Linked DNA regions of Homo sapiens: region 2 is linked to region 1. Evidence: promoter capture Hi-C in 16 types of primary human blood cells and fetal thymus (Javierre and others, 2016). All regions are on one chromosome and are shown on one strand. The core of a region is centred on a gene start or on the middle of the fragment in contact, and the rest is flanking DNA. Distances in the headings are between cores, read along the strand shown. Region 1 holds the start of SRPX (sushi repeat containing protein X-linked). Region 2 has its middle 61 kb from the start of H2AP.

Region 1 (4,765 bases), core at 970-3,469:
CTTACTGAAGATATGATGTCCACTTGCTAAGAGAGTGTCTCTGAAATGATCTTTAAAATTTGTCACCCAGCACTTAGAGTGAACTCAGCCTATGTGATTTGCTTTCAGACCCAAGGGCCTAGAGATTTTCCCCTCCCCAGCCTTCCAAAGCCTCTGGCTTGGACTGAAATCCCCTCCTCTGGATCTCACAACCTCAGCGGAGCACACTTCCCAAGAGACCCCATTGAGCCATGCCAAAAGGAGGCTCAAGAGGAGTGTTTATCAAGCAGCTCCAATCAGCTTCAGCTCATTTGTGGTCTGAGCAGAGCCGGAGGGCAGGTTAGGAGTCAGTGGAGGTGGTGGCAAGCAGGAACATGGTGGCTAAAAGTTGGGAGCAGCTTGCAGGCTGGCAGAGGGAGCCAGGAAAGCCAGGGATAGGTCCCAAAAGACAGGTGGTAGTGAATGCCCAAACTGGCGAACTCATGATTCTGTGGCTGGGCCCTGGTAGCAAGCTGTACTATATAAAGGTGGAAGATGAGAGAAAGGAGAGGGGAGGGCAGGGGAGGAGAACGGAGGGAGGTCGGATGGAAAAGGAGAAGGGGTCCCCAGCTTGAGAAAGGCTCAACTAAAAGTTGAGGTTCCCAGGCAGCTCACAGGCACCTCCCAACTCAGTGCGGAAAAGCTACCTCTAGCTTCTCACCTTATTTGCCCGCTCCCAGAAAGCTGCTTCTGGGACGCTTAATGACTTCCTCTTCCCCTACAGGTTCATTTTAACCTGATTCCTGCTAAAGGGGGTGGGAGAGGAGGTATTAACACACCATGGGAATAACAGTTGCCTGGCAGTAAGGATAAAATTTCCTTTCCACTTTACCCTGAATCAGTTCCTACAAAGCAGCTTAAAACTTAAGAGTCAGCTCAAAACACAAATGTTCCTGTTTATTAATTTACAAATTTGTTCTATTCATTCATTTATTTAGGTGCGTGCAGAGAATTTCCCGCAGCCATCCCTACATCTCCCAAGCACACTGCTAGAAAGATGGGCATCCTCTATCCTTCTACCAGAACTCAGTAGGTTCATTTCTCATACCCTAGATTTAAGCTGCCCACGGTGTTGAACGCAGAGCCAAATATTTGCACGCCCTATAGCCGACGTCACCCACTTTCCCATTAACACTAAATTAAAACGCATCCATGGATTTCCTCTCCATTCCGAGGCAACAGGAGTGCATGGCACATTGCCCTACTCCCCTGAAGCTCTTCGCTAACCTAAGACTCCAGGGTGAGGAAGTTAGCTGGAGCTTTTTAAAGTGCATCTCCAAAGAGAATTTTGCTCACACCATGAGAGCCCCCAAGAAACACCAGGGCCCCCTTAGATGCCGGAGACCACGCCCTCCAGGAATAAGCCGCACCCTCTGCCCAGCAGATCCTTGCGCGAGTAGCCCTCTTTCCCTGGGGCTAATCAAGTGCATGCCACATGTCACCACTCTCAGCTGGCAATTCTTCCTCAGAGGCGCAGACTTTCTCGGAATCCCCAGCAGGGGGGGTTAAGAGATTCAGGGGAGGCCCCGCCCGTGCCTTCCACAAAAGTCGCTTTACCGTGGCTCGTGTCCTGCGGCCCCAAGGGGGTAGCCTGGGACGTGTAGTGGGAGGGCATAGAGGCTCCTTCCAGGACAAGCTGCCAGCCTCCAGTGGGCAACCATGTGAGAGGCAAAATTCTGGGGGTGAGAAAGTAGCAAACTAGTCTGCGGCCAAACTTTCTCTGTGGAGCCTCCTACACCGAAAAGGGTTTGATTGGAACTCTGGAAGCCCGGACGCAGAAGGTGCTAGGGCTCCCGTCGCCGCGAGGGCGCCCCGCGCCTGGAGATGGGATGGTCAGTTCTTCCCGGCGCGTGCCCAGACACCAGCCCCGATCCGCATCATCCCCACCCTCGGGCTGCGAAAGAGGAGTTCTGCGCAAACAAAGGGCGCCCCCGGCACCTCCCTCTATCCCGAGCGAAGGGTCCCAACGGCGACTCCGGGGGTCTTTGGTGCCCAGCTGAGGAGGCAGCCACGCCTCCGATCCTACCTGGGAAGCTGCGGCTGGGCGGGACGCGCAGCAGCAGCAGCAGCAGCAGAGGCGGCAGCAGCAGCAGCAGCGCGGGCCGATGTGCGGGGCTCCCCATGGCGAGCGGGCGCTTAGCTCGCCTCGGCAGCGCAGCGCGCTTCCCGGGGGCGGCAGGAGACCGAAGAGACCAAGGGACTGCGTGCTAGCGGGCGGGCGAAGGCCGGGCTGGAAAACTCCTCCTCTCGCCTCTTTCCCTCCCTCCTTCCTGCCTGGGGCCTGCCCTCCTTTCTCCGCCCCCCCTGGAACACTGCGCGGTTCGGGGCTCTGACCCACCCACCTCCTCCTTTTGTGCCAGCGCTTTTTCTGGCCAGAGAGCGCTGGAGACAAGCCCCAGCAGAGCGAAATATCCTGAAGTAGCTTTCTTTGCCCCAATTTGCGCGCCCCCTCACCCGGAATACACACACGGTATTCAATACAACCGCCTCGAACATCCCAGACGTCTAGAAGGATACCATCTGTGCAGAAAGCTGCGTGAGTCACACGGAAACAGAAGGGGCAACCGAGGGGATTCAGAGTGGCCCACTGCGGCCGGATACTATGGCCATGTTCTCTGTTTTGATCCTCACGACCATGCCCCAAGTTCGCTATTACCATGTCCACTTTCTCCAATAAGACACCGACGCTTAGAAACTTGCCCAGATTCACCCCCGTTACTGGCAGAGCAGGGACTGGAACTTAGGTGTGTAGTTCTGCCGACGTCAAAGTCCATACTACAGATTTTTTGTTAGTTTGTTTCTCTTTTGCAAAGGAATAAATCAAGGACTGGACCGGGTGCGTGCCTGCTCTGCTGCGGTTTAGGATGGGGCTTGAGGTTCTCCTTCCAGGATCAGCTGATGGGAGAGCACAAGGCACAGAAAGTTCTCTGTCTCACCCACAGCCATGGGGATCCAGCTGTAGGTTCCTGCAGCCAGATTTCCTCATTTCCTGGGTTGTTCTCAACCACCCCAAAGATACCACGACCAGACTGGAGCCTCTTCCCTGTGGCTTGGCATCGCTGGATCCTGGCATCAGGACAGGGTTTCTAGGCTGCCCGCAGGACGGATCTGGTTTCTTTGAGGCATTTGAGTAAGCCTCTCATAGTTTTGTTTGTTTGTTTGTTGTTTTGGTTGTTTAGTTCTTGTTAAATCAGTAAGGCAATACGTTGCCCCTTTGCTGTCTCAGAAAGATCTTAGCTAAGGCAAATTTTAGTTGGAGTTGCTGCATTAGGTTGTGCAGTTTGGGCACTGTACAAAGGCATCCAGAGGAAGGGGCAAGTGGGAGCCAAAATCCAAATGCCTTTGGGTTCAGGGAGCTTTGCGTCTTGGCAGGGGCCACATCCACTAGAAGGGCATCTTTCTCTCTGCCACAGTAGTCTGGTCTGATAGCTAGGCTAAGAGCCCTGGGGGCACTCACCTAGAAGTTCTGAATTTGTTTATCCAGAAGGAGTGCCATTTCCCAATTCTCACAAAAGCCCCAGACTTGAACGTCCATCTTACCCTCTCTAGCACTTGGGGGGACTTCGCTCCATCTCCTGTGGGTTTCTCCACTGCTGCTACCTCTTCAGGGAACCAACAACCCTTAAATAACCCCCTAGTCGCAAGGAAATGGGGGAGGTCAGTCTATTCTGTGGCCTCCATCAGACCAGACTTTCCAGGGAGTCATTCTCAACCTTGTTTATGTGGGTCACCTGGGGAGCTTCATGAAAATACCATATCCAGGCTCTACCTCACACTAATAAAATCAGAATCTTTAGGAATGTGACCTGGAGTTTGACCAGATGCATATTTTTGTCTCTCCCCAATCCGCTAAGCTCCACGGTATAAGTTTTAGTATAGGATAAAAATTCTAGACCAGGAGTTTCTCAACTTGGGCACTATTGATATTTGGGGCTAGATGATTCTTTCTTGGGGAGGGGGACTGCCTTGCACGTTGAGAGATGCATCGATGGCCTCTATGCAACAGATACCACTAGCAATCCCCCTTTCCCCAGTTATGGCAGCCAAAAAAATGTCTCCAGACATTGCCAAATGTCCCCCAGGGGAAAAATGCCCCCAATAGAGAACTACTTCTTTAGGTCTGTAAACAAGGGTTAATGTGCACCCCAAATTCCAGGTCCAGGATAGCCTGGCCAGCAGCCTTCCTTTCCTATGTCACCTCTGAAGCAATGTGTCTTCACCACAACCAGTATACATTCTATTACTGGGCTGAGAAGGAACTTCTAGCTCACTTCTATCCACTGATTCTGGCTGGATTACAAGAAACACCACACTTACTGTTGACTTGCTCTCTGGCCTTTGAATGTCCTCACCACAAAGAAAGAAATCAGAAATGGATGAGGTGATGGTCACGCAAAATACTGACTTGACGCTTGGTGCAGTGGCTCATGATTGTAATCCCAGCACTTTGGGAGGCCAAGGTAGGCGGATCACTTGAGGTCAAGAGTTTGAGACCAGCCTGGCCAATATAGTGAAACCCCATCTCTACTAAAAATACAAAAATTAGCCGGGAGTGGTGGCACACACCTGTAGTCCCAGCTACTCGGGAGGCCAAGGCAGGAGAATCACTTGAACCTGGGAGGCAGAGGTTGTGCCACTGCACTCCAGACTGGGCAACAGAGCTAGACTCCATCTCAAAAAAAAAAATACTGACTTGATTTTTTCTTTTTCTTTTTCTTTTCTTTCTTTCTTTTTTTTTTTTTTCTTT
Region 2 (5,225 bases), core at 2,146-4,645, 290 kb before region 1:
TGCCAGTATTTGATATAACTTATAGAGACAGATCTACCACTTATGGAGGATTGCCTTTCCAGGAAATGTTCTCTCTCTTGTAGATAATTCAGAAAGAGCAAACCATTCTCTCTGCTTGCAGTAAGCCTGTATTGAATCTTCTTTACCTACAAAAAGATGGCATGATTGGGGGGTGAACAAAAGGCTCTGATAGCATTTTTTCACATAAATAAATGCAAATCCATATGGAATCCTTCTGACGGATATGTCTACATACTGGAAAACTTTAAAAGATGTATTTCAATCAACCTAAAAGTTAATTATGCCATTCCATTCCTCAAATATTCAAGAAAGTCTTCCATGCATTTGGGCTACACAGCAGCAAATCCATAATCATGGTTCCCAGCTTGCATATTAGTTTTAGTGTTTTGTTTAAGGCTCTCTGGTTGGGGGAAGAGTTTAATGTAAGATTACCTTAAACCAAATCAAGATACTTTCGAGAACAAAGGGATTCTTATGAGAGACTAAAGCAGGTAAACAAAGGCAGCTCCGACTGATAAAATACTTGTTTGAAGGTGTGTGGAGGAGATGGTGGTATGCAACTTTTAAAAACTGGCAGGGCTAGGTGTGGTGGCTCACTCCTGTAATCCCAGAACTTTGGGAGGTCGAGGCGGGCGGATCACAAGGTCAGGAGATCAAGACCATCCTGGCCAACATAGTGAAGCCTCGTCTCTACTGAAAATACAAAAAAAAATTAGCTGGGTGTGGTGGTGCGCACCTGTAGTCCCAGCTACTCGGGAGGCTGGCAGGAGAATTGCTTTAACCCAGGAGGTGGAGGTTGCAGTGAGCCAAGATTGTACCATTGCACTCCAGCCTGGGTGACAGAACAAGACTCTGTCTCAAAAACAAAACAAAACAAAACAAACAAAAAAACTGACAGAATTCACAGATACTCCTTCTGTCTTATCGTGTACTTGCCCTGGATTCTACTCTATAGCATCAGTCAAGCCACCATAACTTTTCTTGGAAGTGAAAAAATGGCCTGAAAATATGGCTAATCCCCAAGATAACTTTAAAATACTTTCAGAAGTAGTTTCAAAGAAAACACAATGGAAATGGTGAGGTTATACAGGTCTGGCTCAAACCTTGTGTGAGTTGATATGGAAAAGAAAATTTGATTTTATTACTTAAATATTTTACATGAATTGCAAAGAGGAAGTGAAGGCATTACATATATACCTGTCCAGAATCATTCCCTGATTTCATGACATTTCCACATTTGTATCTACTTGTTCACTGCCCATGCATGGGGGCTGTATCAAGTTTTGGGGGTCCTGCACCTTATACTATTTAAGTGGTTGCCATTAAGAAAATGGTTACAAAATAAATATCTCACACATTCAACCTAACTAGTCCCCCTTTCCAGAGAAGGAGCTTTCTCATCCATTCACTGCAGTCCCTTACCTAATACATACCCTCACACCGGGGGTCAGCAAGCTACTGCTTTGTGAGCCAAGCCTGGATCACCACGTTTTTGTATTAGAACATAGCCACATCCATTCAGTTACAGATTGTCTATGGGTACCTTTGTCTTACACTTACCAAGTTGAGTAACTGCCACAGAGACCACAAAGCCCTGCAAAGCCTAAAATATTTACTCTCTGGCCAACTACACAAACTGTTTACCAACTCCTGCCTTACACAGTAGCTGTGGGTTCTAGCCCCACTTCTCTCTGGATCTACCCAAGAGAATCTAAAACAACCATTCACCACATCATAGGATTGTATAAGACATCAGGTTAATCAACTGGACAAACCCTCGTGCCTTTTGATTTTGTCTTCTAAGAAGTCCAAAATCAAATTTAGTCCTTATTATAATAACTCATCCCTGATTACTGGCACAATTATTTTTCCATTTCTCATTAAATTTTATTTTTTCTTTATCTTAGTCCAGTGGTAGTGACTTTTTGGTAAGCCATCTTATTTCTTATCCGGAAGGTGGAATTTAAGTGGTAAGCTAACATGGTAAATTATTATCAGTCTGCCTAATTAGTCATATGTGCTTTAGAATATTTAAAGCAGGACTAAAAGTTGCTATTTTTAAAAAGCTACCTTGGAGTTTGTGCTTGTAACTCCCAAGGTGAAGACAGAATTTATCACTGGGATACCTGAGCTTTTGTGTACACAAGAAAAATAATATTTTAATGCATCTCTTAGTTATGCAGAGGCAAAGCCCAGATCTTACAATGCATAAAAATGTAAAATGTTGTTTTCTTTGGAGTAAGACTGCATCTCTGGAGGATTATTGTGCTATTAATGGGCTTTTCACCTGTTTTTTCTTCCTTAAAGGGAGTGTGTTGTAGGCCCAAGAGTTTGAGAGAGAGCACAAGACAGAGGTCACTAATCTGAGGAGATAAGGGCTTTTCTTCTCAGCAACAGGATGGCATGCTGAGTGGCTAAAGAGGAAGGGGGTCAATATGAGACCTCTGGGAATGAATAAGACCTGTGGGCTCTAGAAAACTCAGAACAGGTTTTAAATCTTTCCAGATTAGTGTTTAAATTACCCTCTGTTTACCACAAAGCTTCAATAAAGTTTTTAAAATAATAGCCTACTGTTTATTTTGCTTTGGTAAAAGATGGGCAAGGCTGTATTATGCTTTGCATCAACTATTGTTGAGATAAGTAGAAGTGAAGAAGGTACCATGCAGAGGAAAACAAAAGGGAGGGGCAGTTACAAAATGGATAGGGGTGGTCTGAGGAGGATTGAAGAGGTGATCCTAGCCTGATCTGAGACAAATGGCCACCTTTGGGAAACCTCAGAAGCATTTGAGGAAATTATTTCCTTTTGCTAAATCAAAAGAGAGATCTCAGAAAGCTGGAATGCCAGAGTTGCTTATGTAAAGCACTTTGACAAATATGTTATTAGATGACTTTAGGGTTATGAATGAGAGACGTGAAAACTATAACTGATTTGGTTTTCATCCTTCTAAAAAGAAAAAAATATAATAAGAATTCAGAATTCAGTCAGGCTGCACAGAGGTTAACTGAAGGAAGTTAGCTGAAAATTAATTGGAATTCGGGGTCGACTTCTAGTTAAGTCAAATGGAACCATTAACTTTAGGGTAAAACCTGAAACCAACAAAGACCAATCCCTCTCAAAAAGATAGAGAGTCTCTTGTTTTCATAGCAAATGTATAAAAGGGTAAGGGCACCTATTAGGGCCTTACCCTAGTAGATTCTGTGTCCTGACAACCTGACCCGTCCGCTGAGATGGTAACCCTGGTTTAACTAGTTGGTAATTCCAGTTTGCTTAAGCATTGAGATTGCTATGTTGAGACAGCTGGTTATCCTTAAATATTATAATTTACTTTTTTATTTTAATAGAACCCCAGATTTTTAGCTGGGCACATGTGTGCTCAGAATCAAGATTATATTTCCTAGCCTTCTTTATAGCCAAGTTTGACCATACGAATATGTTTTTGTCAAAGGGATATAAGAAGTGATGTACAACATCCAGAAGCTATCTCTGAAGAGAGAAAAAGCCTATCTTTATTCTTTCCCTTTTTTCCCTTCTTTGTGGCTGGAGTATAGATAAGATGGCTAGAACTGGAGTAGTCATCATTGGCAATGAGGTGACCTATACTAGAGCAACAAGATAGAAGGAGCCTGGGTCCTTGACATGATGAAACTGCCGTACCAATCTGACTGCCTTTCTCTAGACTTTTACATCAGGGGAAGTACATTTTTCCTTGGTCAGCTACTTTTGCAGGTGAATCTCATCCTGATTAATTTCGCACAAAATGCTCAGCTCCCTTGAAATGAAAACATTGTGTCTTAGTTGTTAAGTTTATTTTCTACCCATGGAACATGAAGAACAAACACAGGGTTTGCATCAGTTATCTCTCTCTACTATAATGCTGTGTAACAACCACAAAATCTCTGTGATGCAACTCAAATTTCCTCCATGTGTCCCTCATCCTCCAGCAGGATAGCCCAGGTATGGTCTCATGGCAATGATAGAGGAAAAAGAGAACAAGTACTTTTTCAAGCCTCTAGTTGTCTCATGTTTGTTAACATCACATTTTCCAAAATAAGACATGTGCCTGGACTCAGAATCAAGGGGTAGGAAAATATATTGTCTCTTGATAGGAGGAACTGCAGTCAATTGGCAAATGGCATGGATACAGGGAAGGGTAAAGAATTTACGTCATTATTTCAATCATTCTAACCTTCATATTAAAGTTTTAAAAATAAGCTTAGAATTAAATTTTGGGATAGGTTTTCATAATAATTGTAATACTGTATCCATTTGGTATTTAATGGTTTTGCAATATCAGAGAGAATTTGGCATGTTAGAGAATATGCAAGACTTAGATTATGATTCCAATTCCAAATGTAAGATTTTGTCATTGATTTTAGTCTTTTGAATGATATTTGGAAAGTGTGAGATAAATTTACTAAGTTAGCAAACAGTACTGAAGGCCTAAGAGAAGTTCAGGTTCACTAGGTCTCAAGTTGAATTTTTAGATTTTCTAGCATTAAGTTTTGTGAAAATATCTTATTTGGTACTCTTCTGAAATGTTAGCCCTTCTAAAAGGCTTTCCCTGACCATTCAATAAAAAGTGACTATATCACTTTACCTTCTCTTCTATAGAGCATTTATCAGTATCTGGAATGATACCATATACTTGTTTATTACCTACTTTACCCACTAAAATACAGTCTCCACAAAGGCAAGCATTTTGTTTTGCTTGCTGCTGTATCCAGAACACTTATAAAGGAGCTTGATATATAGTAGGTGCTCCAAAATTTGCTGAATGACTGAATAAAGCTTTGGTTTTAGGTCATGGCTTTGAAATACTTAAAGAGAAATTTTAATATAATAAATTTATGAATGTAATTCAAATCCTGTAAATTAATTAACTGAATTATAAACAGGGCTAATAGTTTGAGGAGTTCAGTCTGCTCAATTTGAGTTGACTAAATATTAATTAAAGGTTTTCTAGTCAGTGGCTAATAGTTTAAGGAGTTCAGTCTGCTCAATTTGAGTTGACTAAATATTAATTAAAGGTTTTCTAGTCAGTCACTGTTAAAATTTAGTGTGTATAGAAATAGAATAATAGGATTTGCAAACTGGTCTTAAAGACTTATAGGAAAGCTAGCTTGTTAAATGTTGTTTTAGTAATTGAATATTATTTTTAAAAGTAAATTTTAAGAATTAAAAAAATAAAGTAACAATACTGATT

Evidence for each region. The method cuts DNA at HindIII sites, captures the fragments that hold promoters and counts their contacts. A CHiCAGO score of 5 or more calls a contact.
Region 2: a contact is called between a fragment that was not itself captured here and the fragment with the promoter of SRPX in region 1, in 4 of 17 cell types (M0 macrophages, M2 macrophages, M1 macrophages and 1 more). The highest score is 6.4, in M0 macrophages.

The regions. Positions count from the first base shown.
Region 1 is chrX:38,218,652-38,223,416 of GRCh38, forward strand. SRPX (sushi repeat containing protein X-linked) reads right to left here and starts at 2,220. Exons shown (of 10, transcript NM_006307.5): 1 at 2,045-2,220. The coding sequence starts at 2,141. LOC124905176 (a long non-coding RNA gene) reads left to right here and starts at 2,257. Exons shown (of 2, transcript XR_007068212.1): 1 at 2,257-3,148. The HindIII fragment of the contact is 8,549 bases long and covers 1-4,765 here.
Region 2 is chrX:37,926,896-37,932,120 of GRCh38, forward strand. It overlaps a transcript of SYTL5 not described here. Among named protein-coding and RNA genes, the nearest start is that of H2AP, 61 kb to the right of the region's middle. The HindIII fragment of the contact is 1,673 bases long and covers 2,560-4,232 here.